Linked DNA regions of Homo sapiens: regions 1, 2, 3, 5 and 6 are each linked to region 4. The links are contacts of gene promoters, found by promoter capture Hi-C in blood cells and fetal thymus (Javierre and others, 2016). All regions are on one chromosome and are shown on one strand. The core of a region is centred on a gene start or on the middle of the fragment in contact, and the rest is flanking DNA. Distances in the headings are between cores, read along the strand shown.

Region 1 (2,700 bases), core at 167-2,666, 1.1 Mb before region 4:
ATCTTCAGTAAAGTCGTTTCATTTACATGTGTTTGGCAAACAGTAAGTGTCTGTTAGATGAAAGAACAAATGAACTCAAGGGGGCGAATGCAAAAAACAACAGGCCCCCAACCCAACCCTTTCCAATGCCTCCAGTGTTTTTCCCAGAGGCAACCACATTTACCTCATTGTTTTTAGTTACCCCATCTGTAAACAATCTGCTCATGCTGTGAATTTTTGATGTCTCAATCTTAGATGTTGCATACTCACTTCCTGCCAAGATAGATGAAGATTTAACTACATTAAACCACCACAAATTTTCCCTACTCATAACAGCTAATAAATTATATCACTAGTCAGCATTGCACTTATTACATTTGCAACTTTAAATAATGTAACTCACAGTTCTTGCTTCAATATAAACAATCCCTCTTCACTTTGCCAGATAAGAATTTTGTATCCCTTACCCTTGTCTTCATCTTTGGTTCCTTTATTACACTATCATGCTTCACATTTACAACCTGTTTTGTAACTATAGTTAAGCAATTCTTGCTTTGCCTACAGGTGGACTGTATTTTTGAAAATCAGTAAAGGCTATTTATGCTACATCTGTGTAAACAGTATTCACTGTCCATGAAAGTTACCTTCTATGTCTCTATTTGTTTTTTGGTACAGCTTTTTGTCATATACCCTACTCAATTAAATTATAAATTGCCTTTTTACTTTGTCTTGAATTGTCTTCCTTTATGGCATCATTAGACTAGATTCTTCCAACATTTCCAGAATACTAGCAAATCCAGGAACTCCTTTTTTTCTACAGGCAGTTCTTACAGTCCTGAAGTCTTTCAATCTGGATAGACAGGCTTCCTGTTGCATAACTATCCTGGAACTTGCGTTCACTGCATTTCTGAATTTGTTCCACTGTTTCACAGACCCAATCCACTTCATTTCCTTCAACAAGTCCCTTGTTTTCTTGGCCTGTATTCTCAAGAAACATCCTAAAAAAGAATATTAGTGAGGCAAAGCTTTCTCAAAAGTTTGGGTTTCATTTTCTTTTTCATTCTGCCCACATTATTTTATCAATAGTTTGGCATGGTATAGAATTCCAAGTTCAGGAGGCGTGGTGGCTCACACCTGTAATCTCAAATCTCAATATTTTGGGAGGCTGACGAGGGAGGATGGCTTGAACCCAAGAGCTCAAGACCAGCCTCCGCAACACAGCGAGACCCTGTCTCTAACCAATTTTTTTTTTTTAGGGGGAGTTTTGTTCGTGTCTCCCAGGCTAGAGTGAAATGGCGTGATCACGGCTCACTGCAACCTCCGTCTCCTGGGTTCAAGGGATTCTCCTGCCTCAGCCTCCCAAGTAGCTGGGATTACAGGTGCCCGCCACCATGCTCAGCTAATTTTTATATTTTTATTAGAGACGGGGTTTCACCACGTTGGCCAGGCTGGTCTCGAACTCCTGACCTCAGGTGATCCACCTGCCTTGGCCTTTCAAAGTGCTGGGATTACAGGTGTGAGCCACCGCACCCAGCCCTGTCTCTATAAAAAATAAAAAAAATTAGCTGGCATGGTGGCTTACGCCTGTAGTCCCAGCTACTCAGAAGGCAGAGAGGGAGGATCACTTAAGCCTAGGAGGTCAAGGCTTTAGTGAGCCATGACTGGGCCATTGTACAGCAGCCTGGGCAACAAAGTGAGACCCTGTGTGGACCAAATTAAAAAAAGGAATTCTAAGTTTAAAGTCATTTCTCCTAGGAACTTTTAGGGTTTCTTGTATCTTAACACTCACTCAAAAGTTTGTTGCCAGCCTGATTCTCATTCCTTTATGGAGTACTTGAACTTTCTTCCTAGAAGCTTTTAGAATCCTCTTCATTCTTGCTATCCTTAAATTTCATGATATATCTATGTATATACATATTTTTCTTTTTTCTGTTCAGTACTCAGTAGGTCTTCTACATTTGCAGAATCATGTTTCCCTTTAGTTCTGAAATTTTTTTCTTATTAAGCAAGTTTCATCCAACCACTTTCTCTTCTCTAACTTTCAGGAACTTCTACTATTCTGATGTTGAAAATGTAAATTCTTAGGATTTATCTTTTCTTTCTCTGTTGTTCTCTACTTTTCCTCTTTTCTTTAATCTTGTAGTAATGCAAATTGAGCCTACCAACTGACCTTACAGACTATGAGACAGAGAAATAAATCTCTCATGACTCATGTTTATTCTTTCCACTTAGTTAAAAGGTTTACCCAATATCAGCCCAGCTGGGTTTAGTGGGTGAGTGCTACCTATGACTGTGAGTATTCATTCCTACTACAAGTCAAGATTCATTCTCAGTGCTGTGTATATAACAGTGAACAAAGAAAAAAATTCCTGACTTCTTGAACTGACTTTGTAGTAGAGGGACACAGACAATAAAAAATTAAAATGTTGCATGTCCAGTATAATTCTGGAGTCAGCAGCTGTAGCTGCAGTTTTCTGATTTTGTAGGCAGCTTTTTGTTCAGAGACAGGCAGCAGCTTCTTTGGTGGCTTGCTCTTATAGTGTGACTCTAGGAATTTTTCTCAGAGTTCTATGTTTCTTCAGCCCTCCTATGATTCAGCAGAATATGTAATACTTGTTGAGAAATTCTTTTTATCTTTAAATTATAGAGCACATAGAATGATTTCTATGAATTCTATTCTCTGTAACTGAACCTGACTGCTACAATAGTCACAAAAATAAA
Region 2 (2,700 bases), core at 1-2,500, 1.0 Mb before region 4:
TTAAACATAAAATCTCCTACTTGCAGTTTTTTACTAATAAAGAATAATTCTATACCTTTGGAGCATATCCATTATTGACTGAATCCATTTCTTCTGACAGTCAGGAATTAAGGTCTGTGAGTTTGTTATTCCTGTATCAACAACACACGTTCCCGGAGCCAAAAAGAAATTATGTTCTTCTTCATTCTCTTCTGTTATCAACCTAGCTTCCCCACCTCCAAAGACAACTGCGGAACTCAATTTCTTATGCTAAAAATGGAAGGAAACATTTTTTAAAGTAAAATGTAGTAATTTTTTGAACACATAAGAATTTGATTTGGGAAACATAGAAGTACAATTCAAGAAGACTTGGTGCTACTTCTTGAGTAGGTCATTTCAGCTTCCACTTTGAGAAAGTCCCTAGTTCAACAGGTCTCTGCGGCCCTGGAACTGTTACACTCTCTGTGGTTCCTCATCACACTTCCTAACAGCACTCTAACTGTGGGCTTATCTGCATTTCTCCACTACAACATAAACTCTTGGAAACCCCACTTTGGTACACAGAACATATTCAACTGATTTAACTTCTTTAGTGAGCTTACTAACTAAAGAGGTTTAGCTTACTAACTAAAGAAGTTAAAACTAAGTTTCCTGTCCTTCTCACTTGCATATTTATGAATAGGCCAGTTATCACAGATTTTAAGAAACCCCGTAATCACAGCCATGATCACTGGGCAGGTCTGGTGCCTGGGGTTTTTTTATTCTACTTCACACTTTTACACAAAATCCCAAAATGAAATACGTTAACAACTACTGATAAGAGTTAATAATGTATCCTAGTTTGTAATGTATTCTTTAGGAAAATTTAGCTTATAACATAATTACCTGTTTGGCATTCAAAAATATAAATGTTTTCCCTTTGAAGATTTGTTTTCTTTCCTGCCGTCCTGACAGATCAACATTTTTACTTCCAATAGATGGTTCATCAAGAGGTGGGTAAAAACTGTAAAAATAATTAAAGTATATTCTAATTATATACTACTATGTTTGCTATTAAATTGTAAACGGAGTGACTATCTGACACTCAAAAGGCATAATTTCCATAATACCTTTATAGTATTTTTTTTAAGTAAGAATTTTATCTGGGACAAAATGACAAAAAGCATCTAATCGCGTTTTCTAGAAATATGGTGGCAGGTGACACAAAGAAGAGCTAGAATTGATCATTAATATCTCAAAATAAATAATCCAAGGTAGACAATCATAACAGGATGAACATTAAACACACATGACTCAAACAAGGTGTCTGAATTACAAAAGTTTGAGAGAAACATCATCCATAAAGATCAAATTCTATTAGCATCTTGTGTTTACTTAGGAGCCAATATCTATTAAAACGCTCATGTTTCAATTCTACTAGCACAATCTATTATGAGTGTTTTGTTAGAGATCTCTTTGGAGAAGTTCAGGAAATTTTTAAACTTACATTATTTACTCAGTTCAAATAAAATTTCCAAAACAAGACTAAAGAATATAATGTTTTAGCTCTTTAATTTAATGCTATAAGAACATCTTAATCATCCATGAAAATAAAGGAAAATAAGAAATGGAGAAATATCAACAGATAATTCTTAAGCCTCTCATCAGTCTAGAGTTTCAACTTCCTGTATAATCAGATCTTTTGCTACAGCTGTTCATAACTGACCGGCATTTCGACTTGTCTCTCTTCCTTTCAGTAAAAATTACTAACCCATGATGATGATGATAAGGGGACAATGTAGGGAGGGAGAAATTCACAACCTGGACAATCAGTCACAAATCAAGAGTTAACTATCTGCAGAGATCAACATCCAACGTGGTAAAAACACTGCAGTCATTAAGAGTCACTATCCAGCACTTTAGAACTAATTACCTTACATCTTTCCCCTGGACTTCTCCTTGGAAACATACATATTTCATAAAGTAAAGCTAAGTTATGATTGAAGAGTTACAATACTTTAAAATTTTTTTGATAACTGATGCATGTATTTTAATTTCACTACAATAGATGCTGTAAGTCTGTTTTAAAGCAATGATTTCTGGAAGCTGCAATCTCAAATGAGTTATCTGCAGGCAAGAGCAGACTCACTTGGCAGGACAGAATGCAGGCAACTGCGTTAGTTATGGTTTTTCTAAACAACCGACTTTAAAATTCTATTTATTTTACTTTTAAAATATACAGAGAACAGTGGAAACTATTTTAACTGTTAACAAAAACTAAATCTACAATAAGAGCACTGGAAAGTTAGTAGACATTCGGACACATAAAAAGGATCAATTTTAATATCTCTTTGAATCCTTTTTATCCTTTATCTCCTAATAAATATTCCCCCATAACTTATACTTCTTTCTTAGTGTAAAAGCCAACTAACACTTTACTTATATACAAATAACTAGTTTACCAATTAGTTCACACAATAATGTAACAACACTAGGACAGATTACAGAGCCAGTTACAGACAAAAACAGTAAGGAAATGTTTAACACATATGACTGTGTGTTACAGTCAAACATGACTATAAAACTATGACTGAGTAGATGTGAGATTCTTCCTGCTTTCCCAAAACACTAAAGTTGAATGATTTTTAAATTATCTACAGCTTTCTATTATTCACACTGTCATTCTTAATTATGCCATAGATAACAGTTTACAGTAGCCAGGGAGCAGCTAACTGTAGCTTA
Region 3 (2,700 bases), core at 143-2,642, 1.0 Mb before region 4:
GGTGTTACTGGAGAGGATGACCACAGCCATGAATGAGTGGAGCTAATGAATCCACATTGGAGATCAGAATATTAAAGTTTTACTTCATCAGGTCTGTGCTCTCATCTAAAGAGCTAACAAATCTACAGATAAGTCAACTTACTGATGTATACAAAAAAGAAAATAATCTCAGGTGTTTTCATAGATCAAAGTGGGTAAGACAAATTATCAACAGTCATGAAAATAGACAAGGACATTACAAAACCTAAATGAAAATGAAAATTCCTAGTGATGTTATATCCTAAAAATTTATTGAGTAGATACTTTGTTTTACTAACTTCATCTTTCTGTGCCTGTTTCTTATACTGAAGCATCTCCTACACTTATCATCATAGCCAAATGTCTTTTATAATAGTACAGCCTAATTTGGAAATCTAGTAAAACAATCTCATATGAAAGTTTAATTTGTGGTCATTTATTTTACACTACTGAAGAATCACTGTACTTTTAACATTTACCATTTACCTTATCAACCAACAAATTTCTATAGTACTGAGTGTTAAAGACATTAATGGATGCTCATACTGTCAATACAAAATCGAAAGTACCTGTTAGCATTCTAAGCTTCTATGTACTATACCTCTCATTTAAAATGTTACTTACAGATATTTTGCTACTTTCTGGTACTGCTTCATCACTGAAAGTGTCATTTGTTTCTATATCCATCCTTGGCCTTTTTCTAACATTGACATCTTCCTCCTGTTTTTGAACTTTCACATCAATTTCTAACTCTGGTTTTGTGTCCTTGAATAACTGTTCCAATACTTCATCTTCTATGGCCACATCATCCATTTCCCTTTTTTTATTTGATCTTAGCTTTTCTGCAGCATGAGATTTACTGGCAGAATTTTTCACAATAGATTTTAAATCTGTATCTGTAAATAAGTTATTGTCTGAGTTTGTGTCCACAGGCTCATTCTCAGATAGATGCTGCTCCTTATTTTTCCACAATGAGGGTGTAGCAGGTTGTGTTTGTTCTAAAAGAGAACAAGACGTTTCTATTCTTGCTGATTTGCATGAAGACATTTCTTGATTTTCTTCATCCCTTTCCCTTAGATTTAAAAAAAAAGAAGAAAACAAAACAAGAAAATGAACACAGCTAAGTAACCATTTAGTTTGGCAATATTCATCACTCCCTCCATTTAGTTCACAATGTACTCTTGATTTTATTAACAATATTACTGGAAATCAACAAATAGACCTTTGAAAACAGTGCAGAACTCACATACATTCTGCTGTTTTGATAGAACTGACGGACCCTGTGGCTAAAGCAGTACGGTGATCTCTATCTTCTCTGCTTAAGTTGCATTAGTTGATAAATTACAGGAAAAGGTAGAAAAATATAAAAATACAAAGAAACTGTTGCCAAGAGACAGCAACTTACTTTATAACGTAGTAAGGTTGTGGGCAGGGAAAACTGCCCTGGGAATACAATCTGATGGGTTAATGAGAGATGGATTCAAGACAGTAAGTCAGAGTGACTAAATCTACAATACGGTACTGACTGTATACTGCAAATGCTATGTGAATATATCACTAAAAGTTTCCTATACAATACTGTATCATTCATTCAATAAATACCAAACACTTTATGCAAACTGTACTAAGCCCATAGAGGACACAAAGACCTGGGACTCTGTTCTCCAGGAGTTTATTGGATTCATGTTGAACAAGAACAGTCAACCCAATGTTCTATTAACACTAATTTAATGCCAAGGTACTGGACAAACCAACCAATCGAGAGGTTTTTGTAATAATTTAGGTGGTCAGAGTTTGAACCTGGCAATAGATGGAAATGGAGGGATTGACAGACACTGAAAATAACAATCAATAACACTGATTTCAGGAGCCAGAGGACAAGAGTCAAAAATTGTAACAACATAAGCTATTTTACTAAAAAAAAAAAACAAAACCACATTTGGTGAGAGGACAGAAAAAGTTTTTAGGTCTATTACTGGGGAAACAGCATGAAACCCCTGTGGAAAAGAAGTAAAGTTTAAAGGAAAAGTTAGGGCCACATATGTTGATTGTCAGTAATAAAGTCTCAAAACCTGAAGGTAGAGTATAAAGAGCAGTACGGGGAAGAAAAGAAGTCCTCCAAAGTTCATACAGAAATGGGAGAAATAACATCATCTTTTCTGAGAAGCTTAACGGGACGGCACAAGAAAAAAGGCAGCAGTAGCTAGAGGAAGAAACCAGGTCAAGAGAAGGTTTTCAAAAATAAAGGTGAGATTGAACTTTTGAAAACAGAAGAAAAAAATCTGGGATGATCAATATATTCAAAATATGGAAATTGAGAAAATAATTGATGGAATATGGTCCTAGAGGGAGTGAGAGCGGTTCTCAAGGAAAACCAGCAGAAATGTGATTTTAGAGCTGAGACAGGGGGTTAGTTCTTATTGAAGAGAATTGCGGCAAGTAAAATAACACGTAAGTACATACATAGAAGGAGATGAAGGAGAAACTGTCTAGTGGCTCTAGTGAAGGAGATCAGGGACATTTCTGAGAGGGAAAGCGGTCAAAAAGCTGCAGCAGCAGAAGCATACTTAATCAGAACAGACTAAAGACAATACCATTCTACAACAGTATAAAAAACTTTCATTTTTTTTTCAGAGACATGAGAGAAGTTATCAAAAACAGACCTTTTTTTGGTAGACGGCT
Region 4 (2,700 bases), core at 16-2,515:
CATTTCTTCAATTTACCATTTTTCTTAGAATACTAAATAAATTAGGGAGTACTGTGCTTTCCTCACGCTACAGACATGGTATACTGCCATACTAACCATAGATCACAGCATATGAAATATACTATGCACTGTTTTTAGAAGCTGAGTACTATACTTAAACTCCAATATAAATTCTAGTCTTCTTTGGAAAGTACTGATGCTACCGCTGCCGTTGAGAAATAAGATCATATAAAGTGAAATAATGAAATGAAAAGACCATATTTGAATTTACCTTGTGTATAATTCCCATATGATAACCAGATAAAATTTCATCTCAATTTCCAACTTCAAAACATTACAAAGTTAGGATTCCTTGAAACCCAATACTGCTTGTAAGTAAACTGCTCACACTGACAAAATGATAGATGAAGAGAAACATACAGGAAACATCGGGGAGTAAGAAATAAACCACCTATGACTCAAGTGGTGAAAGACATTTCACGTTCCATATATCTGGTTGCACTATTAAGGAAAAATTAAAACGAAAATATCAAAAAACTAGAAGCTTGGAGAGTTCCAACATATCTTCCATTTCATGCCTTCTCTTTATAACTAATTTAATTTTTTTTTTGGTCTATTTGAGGGATTTCTCAAAACAAAACACAATTTAACATTCGGATGGGCTAAAGCTGTCCAGGTAATAGGTGTCTGTGATTACTTTAGTCATGTAACTGTCCTTTCCGTAGCTTTGACTAAAACACCAGCAATGAAAACCTTGTGCCACCGGGTGGAGGGGGCAAATCGTCTTGAAAGCCTCCCACCGCCTGGCACCAGGTGCTGGGGCAGAGCCAAGGGGAGCTGTGTACTTAGCTCCTTTTTTGGCGATGGCTTTGGTCTCGGCCACTTGCCCCTCCGTCGGGCTCCCCTGGCCCCCTACACTTTCTTTCCCCTCATCCGACGCTCTCGCTCCCATCCCACTCCCATTCAGGGTCCACAGGGTACTGAAGGGGCCCTGAGAGATTTCCCGACCCACCTCAGAGCTTCTCTTCCTCGCCTCAACTTTCCCGGGGTCGGGCCTGGGAGACGGCGCCCACCCGCCTCCTCCACACCACGGGGCCCGACTTCCGTCCCCCAGTGTCGCTCATCCTCCCTAGCCACTTACCGACTCAAAATCCACGGGGATTTCGGGGCAGCAGCGTCGCCGCGCTCAGCCCACACGCGGAGGCCGAGCGCCCTGCTGCCCGTCGGGGAACGGCTCCTGCCGCTGGTCCGCTGGCTGACCGCGGTGGCGGCGGCGGGGGGCGAGGGGCGGGGGGCGAGGGGCGGGGGGCGGGGCGGGAGGCGGCTCCGAGGGGCACGAGGCGGGCCCAGGGCGGGCGCGGGGCGTGGCCTCGGGCGCTGAGCCTCGAGAGCAGCCGCACCCCTGCCGGGGTAGAACCGTTAAAAGGGTGGCGCGCGCTTTCCCGGGCGAGCTGGGCGCGTGGGGTTGGAGCGGCGCCACCCAGAGCCGGTCGTCTAGGGTAGGAGGCCGCGAGTGAGGCGCTGACAGGCTAGCCCTCGACGGGGCGCGCCCGCGTGAACGGCCTTGGGGGCCCCAGACCGTGGCCCTGCTTGTGCGAAGACTGGGAGGCGCCAGGCGGGCCGCCTGCTGGGGGCTTGGCGGCGGGTTCCAGGCAGCGTCTGTGAGGGAGGCCGCCTCTGTGAGGGAGGCCGCCGTCGTGCTGACGACTGAGTCCACCCTACTCCTGTCCCCCGTCAGAGCTGCTGGCAGGCGCTGCTTTCCCCTTGGTGCATTTAGTGGGTGTCGGGATTCGGGTTGGCAGGGAGGAAGATGTTTGAGACCTGGTTTACCTCAGACCAGGGATACAGCGTTTCACACAGACTGCCATCCTGAAAGGAACAAAATGAATTAAGGCAACTCCATCCGAATCATTTCTTTTTAATCTTCACCTTCAATCCTTTTGCTAATTTTTCATTATCTTTGAGTGTCCCCAGAGGGGGACTGTCTGCTTGTACTGAGGGACGTGGAGGTGGCAGTCCCTCACGTCCCCAAGCACCAAAAGGACAGTTGAAAATGCACTGGCAAACACTGAACGGTTTTAAGTGGGGCACTATCAGGATTTACCATTTTGGAAGGTATGAAGTTTCACAAGCACTTCCATGTATAGTCAAGTTATTGGAGCTGTCTCCGTTTAGAAATGGCTTCCAGAAACACTCCTACTATCCACTGAGACAACTCGCCTGGCATCAGAGACCTAGGGTCCAGGGTCAGAGATGGGTCATGATAAAAGGGCATCCCTTGGGGTGAGGCACCAGAAGTCTGCACAGTGGAATCAATATATTCCAACCACCAGATGTAGAAAATCTTAAGTGCAGGATGTGGTTCTCATCCATCTAGTCACAACAGAAGTTTTCTTCTTCAGGAATATACTTAACAATGAAGCATGTATAATTTTATATACATCTTACAATAAAATTATTTTGTGCATATCACTGTATGAAGTCAGTAGAAACTATTGTGACAAAAATGTAAATTGGAAGAATTCCAATTCAGATCAGTATTAGTAATTTATTGAGAGGAAGAGAGAAATTAGACTAGACAGACTCCTTGATTTTTTGATAATTGAGGAAGAAAAATGAACCATATAAACATATCGAAACTTTTCAAAATCTTATTGATAATGACATAAAATTTTGGCATCTACAAGGATAATCTAGAAT
Region 5 (2,700 bases), core at 16-2,515, 1.1 Mb before region 4:
AGGTTTTAAGGTGGTACCAAAGTGATGTGCATTTCATACAAACTATACTTTGGGTACCAATGCAACTGTTCTGTTTTTCACTTTCAGTATAGAATTCAATAAGTCACATGAGGTATTCAACACTTTATTATAAAATAGGCATTTTGTTAGATGATTTTGCCCAACTGTAGGCTAGTGTAAGTGCTCTGAGCACATTTAAGGCAAGCTAGGCTAAGCTTTGATGTTCAGTAAGCTAGTTGTTATTAAATGCATTTTTGACTTAAAATATTTTCAACTTACAATTGGTCTATCAGGACAAACCCTACTGTAAATTGAAGAGCATCCACATCATGAATTATGTCAAATAATTTGCTTCTTATCTCTGATTGGGGCAGGGGATTTTGCTTGTTGCTTTGAACTTTGGAAAATGACATACAGACTAATGCAAGTTTTTCATAACAGTTATGTTTTAGCTCTGCTTGTGAGTAGGAAAACACATAGAGTGAAATGTCATCTGTTACTTAACCTAGATGTAAGATGACTTTGTTTAGCAAAAGACAGATCTGAATTATTTTCAGCTGTTAGGAAAATAGCAGTGTACTAAAATTCATGTCAAGATGGCATGTATAATTTTAAGAAGCATAGATATTAGTTAGGCCTGTAATATCTCAATGATTGCCATGAAAATAATTCAGTTGATAGTTATAGATTATAATTGTGAGATAAAGTAGTCCAATTTTCAAATATCCACATTTTAATACCTTCATTTAATGAAAGTTTATCAAGCAGTGTATTTGAGCAGACACTATGCATGGCACTGGGGAAACAGAAGTGCATTAAATATAGTCTCTGCTCTCATGGGACTTCTTCCAATTTTTTGCTAAAAAGTAACTCATGAAGATTTTTAACTAAAAATAGTTTTTTTTTTAAGTGTTAGGATAATGTATAGCTAAGACAGTCCAGCAGAATTAAAAAGCTATAAAAGCTTACTAGGTAGATAAGTAATAATCATGGAAACTGAAAGTAGTATCCTTATAGGATATTTTTCCTTTTCCTTTTTTAGGAGCCTAAAAGGGGATCGAGTTATGCCAGAGGAAATAGCTCGCTACTATAAACATTATGTAAAAGTCATGGGTCTTCAGAAGAATTTCAGAGAGAATACTTACATAACTTCCGTATCAAGACTCTACAGAGATCAAGATGATGATGATATTCAAGACAGAGATATTTCAACAAAGCATTTACAGATAGAGAAGTCAAACTTTATCAAGAGAAACTGGGAAATTAGGGGTTATCAGCGAATAGCTGATGGTTCTCATGTTCCCTTCTGCCTCTTTGCTGAGAATGTAGCGCTGGCAACTGGAACGCTGGATTCTCCTGCCCATCTGGAAATTGAAGGGGAAGATTTTCCTTTTGTGTTTCATTCAATGCCTGAATTTGGAGCTGCTATAAACAAAGGAAAGTTGCGTGGCAAAGTGGATCCAGTGTTAATTGTAGGTTCTGGGCTTACTGCCGCTGACGCAGTACTGTGTGCTTACAACAGTAATATCCCTGTGATTCATGTGTTTCGCAGACGAGTAACTGATCCAAGCTTAATTTTCAAACAGCTTCCCAAAAAGCTGTATCCTGAATATCATAAAGTCTATCATATGATGTGTACTCAGTCATATTCTGTAGACTCAAATCTTTTATCTGATTATACCAGCTTTCCCGAGCACCGTGTGCTTTCCTTTAAGTCGGACATGAAATGTGTTCTCCAAAGCGTTTCTGGATTGAAGAAAATATTTAAGCTGTCTGCAGCAGTAGTATTGATAGGTTCTCATCCTAATCTGTCTTTTCTGAAGGATCAAGGGTGTTACCTAGGCCATAAGTCAAGCCAGCCAATCACATGTAAGGGTAATCCTGTGGAAATAGATACATATACCTATGAGTGTATTAAAGAAGCCAACCTTTTTGCATTGGGTCCTTTGGTTGGAGACAATTTTGTTCGATTTTTAAAGGGAGGGGCGCTGGGTGTTACACGCTGTTTAGCTACAAGACAGAAGAAAAAGCATTTGTTTGTTGAAAGAGGAGGAGGAGATGGGATAGCTTAAAGCAAGTTTACAAGTAATTAAAATGGACAGTTTGCCATTAAAGATTTTTAATAGTGGTTTTGCAGTGTACTGGCTTGAATTTTCTGGACTTGAGTTAACTGAAGGAGAGCCTCAAACTATAGTAACTTCATTTTTAAAAGTTACTAGAATTTGGTATCCTGATTTATATTGCAGTGTTTCAAAGGTGTCACTGTCAGACAAATAGAAACACTGCCAACTTGGTGTAACTTAAGCTTTCATTTAACTAAAACATTCTTTTCTTGCAAAACTTATTTTTCATGATCATTTTTGGTTATTTATTATACTTGATTCCAAAATAGTACAGCCTTGAATCTATAAAACTGTGCAGTCATTATGCCAGAAATTATCTTAAATATATAATGGGTCACCTTGCTGTTCAAAGGGTGGTGCAAGGTCCTGCAGCATCTTACATCTGTAGCTTGTTAGAAATGTAAACTCTCAGGCCCCACAACTTACTTCCTGCATTTTAACAAGATCCCCAAGGGATATGTATGCTCATAAAAATTTGAGACACTGGTTTAAATGAAAATGGATATAAGGTATGTATAACTGGGGGTGGGGTGAGGGTAGGAGGCATTTACAACTCAGATTTTATTTATTTTGAAAT
Region 6 (2,700 bases), core at 25-2,524, 1.1 Mb before region 4:
GAATAATTTAAAATGAAATTAACAAAGGTATTTCATTTATATAATAGCATCAAAAAATGAAATACATAAGAATAAATTTAATAAATGCAATACTTATGCACTGAAAACTACAAAATGTTGAGAGAAATTAAAGGTCTAAATAAATGGAAAGGAATTCTATATTCATGGATTGAAAAACTTAATATTCTGTTTTTTCTTTTAAGTACAGGGATGCAAGTTCAGGTTTCTTACATAGGTAAACATGTGTCATGGGAGTTTGTTTCATCACGCAGGTATTAAGCCTAGTACCCATTAGTTCAGGGGTGTCCACTCTTTTTGCTTCCCTGGACCACATTGGAAGAATTGTCTTGGGCCACACATAAAATACACTCACATTGATGATAGCTGATGAGCTTAAAAAAATGGCAAGAAAATCTCATAATGTTTTAAGAAAGTCTACGAATTTGTGTTGAGCCACATTCAAAGCCATCCTGGGCCGCATGTGGGTTGAACAAACTTGCATTAGTTGTTTTTCTTGATCCTCTCCCTCCTCCCACCCTTCATCCTCGGGTGGGCCCCAGTGTGTGTTGTTCCCCTCTGTGTGTCCATGTGTTCTCCTCATTTAGCTCCCCCTTATAAGTGACAACATGTGGTCTTTGGTTTTCTGTTCCTGTGTTAGTTTGCTAAGGATAAGGGCCTCCAGCTCCATCTATGTCCCTGCAAAGGACCTGATCTCATTCTTTTTTGTGGCTGTATAGTATTCTATGGTGCATATGTACCATGTTTTCTTTATCCAGTCTATCATTGATGGGTGTTTAGGTTGATTCCATGCCTTTGCCATTGTGAATAGTGCTGCAGTGAATGTACACGTGCATTTGTCTGTATAATAGAATTATTTTTATTCCTTTGGGTATATACCCAGTAATGGGATTGCTGGGTGGAATGGTATTTCTATCTTTAGGTCTTTGAGGAATCACCACACTATTCCACAATGGCTGAACTAATACACTCCCCCCAACATATAAGCATTCCCTTTTCTCCATAACCTTGTCAGCATTTGTTATTTTTTGACTTTTTAATAGCCATTTTGACTGGTGTTAGATGGTGCCTCATTGTGGTTTTGATTTGCGTTTCTCTAATGAGTGATGTTGAACTTTTTTTCATATGATTGTTGGCTGCCTGTATGTCTTCTTTTGAGAAGTGTCTGTTCATGTCCTTTGCCCACTTTTCTGTGGGGTTGTTTTTTCTTGTAAATTTAAGTTCCTCATAGATGCTGGATATTAGACCTTTGTTGGATGCATAGTTTGCAAAAATTTTCTCCCATTCTGTTGGTTGTCTGTTTACTCTGTTGATAGTTTCTTTTGCTGTGCAGAAGCTCGTTAGTTTAATTAGATACCATTTGTCAATTTTTTTTTGCTTTTGTTGCAATTGCCTTTGGCGTCTTCCTCATCAAACTCTGCTTGTGCCTGTGTCCTGAATGGTATTGCCTAGGTTGTCTTCCAGGGTTTATATAGTTTGGGGTTTTATATTTGAGTCTTTAATCCATCTAGAGTTACTTTTTGTATGTGGTATAAGGAAGGTATCCAGTTTAGATCTTCTGCATATGGCTAACTAGTTATCCCAGCACTATTTATTGAATAGGGAATCCTTTCCCCATTGCTTATTTTTGTCAGGTTTGTCAAAGATCAGATAGTTGCAGGTGTGTGGTCTTATTTGTGGGTTTTCTCTTCCATTGGTCTATGTGTCTGTTTTTGTACCAGTACCATGCTGTTTTGGTTACTGTAGCCCTGTAGAATAGTCTGAAGTCAGGTGAGGTGATGCTTCCCGCTTTGTTCTTTTCACTTAGGATTGCCTTGGCTATTTAGGCTCTTTTTTGGTTTCATATGAATTTTAAAATAGTTTTTTCTAGTTCTTTGAAGAATGTCATCGGGAGTTTAATGGGAATAGCATTGTATCTATAAATTGCTTTGGGCAGTTTGTATGAATTTGCATAGCCATTTTAATGATACTGATTCTTCCTACACATGAATATGGAATGTTTTCCCATTCCCGTCGCCTCTGATTTCATTGAGCAGTGGTTTGTGTGTGTCATCTCTGATTTCTTTGAGCAGTGGTTTGGAGGTTTCTGATCAAAATGACTTTGATCAGAAGCCTCCAAAGGTACAGGAGAACCTAACCTTTGCACATACTTTGGAGAAATACCAGGGACAGAGCAGAATATAAAACATGTTAAATGCAGTTGCCAAGAGGTAGAAGCGGGCATGGGCAAGACAGCTGAGGCATCTGGATCTGATCAGAGGCAGTAGTTGGAATGAGTCAGAAATAGATGGATTGAGCATATAAAACTTCCTCCCAAGGGTAGGCTTGCACTGTGAGGAGGGGTTTCCCTTAGTAGCCATGTCTGATTGGTGTCTGTTTTGGTCAAAAGAGGCTATGTAAGGGGAAACCAAATATTTGGGGTACAGGTTACTTTCTTTGCTTCAAGAAAGCTCTCAGTATGTCCTGAGGAAGTCTCGCCTATCCTAGGGTAGACTGGGAACTCTGAAGGTTATAGGGAAGTAGAAATGCCTGTCTCTGCCTGATTCTTTTCTGTTTATCAACCTCCTCTGGGATCAGTGAGTTCAATCTTGTGAAATAACTGATCTATCCCATGCTTATTTATCATCTGAGAGTAGTAATAAACACACTTACCCACTAGTAGATACTTAATTTAATACTTCC

The links. The method cuts DNA at HindIII sites, captures the fragments that hold promoters and counts their contacts. A CHiCAGO score of 5 or more calls a contact.
Region 1: a fragment that was not itself captured here is called in contact with the fragment with the promoter of C8orf88 in region 4 in 5 of 17 cell types (fetal thymus, monocytes, non-activated CD4 T cells and 2 more); the score reaches 12.5 in fetal thymus.
Region 2: a contact is called between a fragment that was not itself captured here and the fragment with the promoter of C8orf88 in region 4, in 1 of 17 cell types (fetal thymus). The highest score is 8.1, in fetal thymus.
Region 3: a fragment that was not itself captured here is called in contact with the fragment with the promoter of C8orf88 in region 4 in 5 of 17 cell types (fetal thymus, non-activated CD4 T cells, monocytes and 2 more); the score reaches 6.9 in fetal thymus.
Region 5: a contact is called between a fragment that was not itself captured here and the fragment with the promoter of C8orf88 in region 4, in 6 of 17 cell types (fetal thymus, neutrophils, naive B cells and 3 more). The highest score is 7.0, in fetal thymus.
Region 6: a fragment that was not itself captured here is called in contact with the fragment with the promoter of C8orf88 in region 4 in 5 of 17 cell types (fetal thymus, non-activated CD4 T cells, total B cells and 2 more); the score reaches 14.4 in fetal thymus.

The regions. Positions count from the first base shown.
Region 1 is chr8:89,887,376-89,890,075 of GRCh38, forward strand. LOC124901974 (a long non-coding RNA gene) reads right to left here. Exons shown (of 2, transcript XR_007061001.1): 2 at 1-2,700. Among named protein-coding and RNA genes, the nearest start is that of OSGIN2, 14 kb to the right of the region's middle. The HindIII fragment of the contact is 829 bases long and covers 1,003-1,831 here.
Region 2 is chr8:89,970,309-89,973,008 of GRCh38, forward strand. NBN (nibrin) reads right to left here. Exons shown (of 16, transcript NM_002485.5): 6 at 865-982; 7 at 56-249. Among named protein-coding and RNA genes, the nearest start is that of NBN, 13 kb to the right of the region's middle. The HindIII fragment of the contact is 5,697 bases long and covers 1-2,700 here.
Region 3 is chr8:89,952,602-89,955,301 of GRCh38, forward strand. It overlaps NBN (nibrin), which reads right to left. Exons shown (of 16, transcript NM_002485.5): 10 at 2,682-2,700; 11 at 643-1,090. Among named protein-coding and RNA genes, the nearest start is that of NBN, 31 kb to the right of the region's middle. The HindIII fragment of the contact is 1,582 bases long and covers 602-2,183 here.
Region 4 is chr8:90,983,973-90,986,672 of GRCh38, forward strand. It overlaps C8orf88 (chromosome 8 open reading frame 88), which reads right to left and starts at 1,266. Exons shown (of 6, transcript NM_001190972.2): 1 at 1,142-1,266. RefSeq lists a silencer at 1,290-1,449. The HindIII fragment of the contact is 2,363 bases long and covers 543-2,700 here.
Region 5 is chr8:89,923,461-89,926,160 of GRCh38, forward strand. OSGIN2 (oxidative stress induced growth inhibitor family member 2) reads left to right here. Exons shown (of 6, transcript NM_001126111.3): 6 at 1,043-2,700. The coding sequence ends at 2,072. Among named protein-coding and RNA genes, the nearest start is that of OSGIN2, 22 kb to the left of the region's middle. The HindIII fragment of the contact is 606 bases long and covers 963-1,568 here.
Region 6 is chr8:89,905,897-89,908,596 of GRCh38, forward strand. The region is part of intron 1 of OSGIN2 (oxidative stress induced growth inhibitor family member 2); the gene reads left to right. Among named protein-coding and RNA genes, the nearest start is that of OSGIN2, 4.7 kb to the left of the region's middle. The HindIII fragment of the contact is 6,258 bases long and covers 1-2,700 here.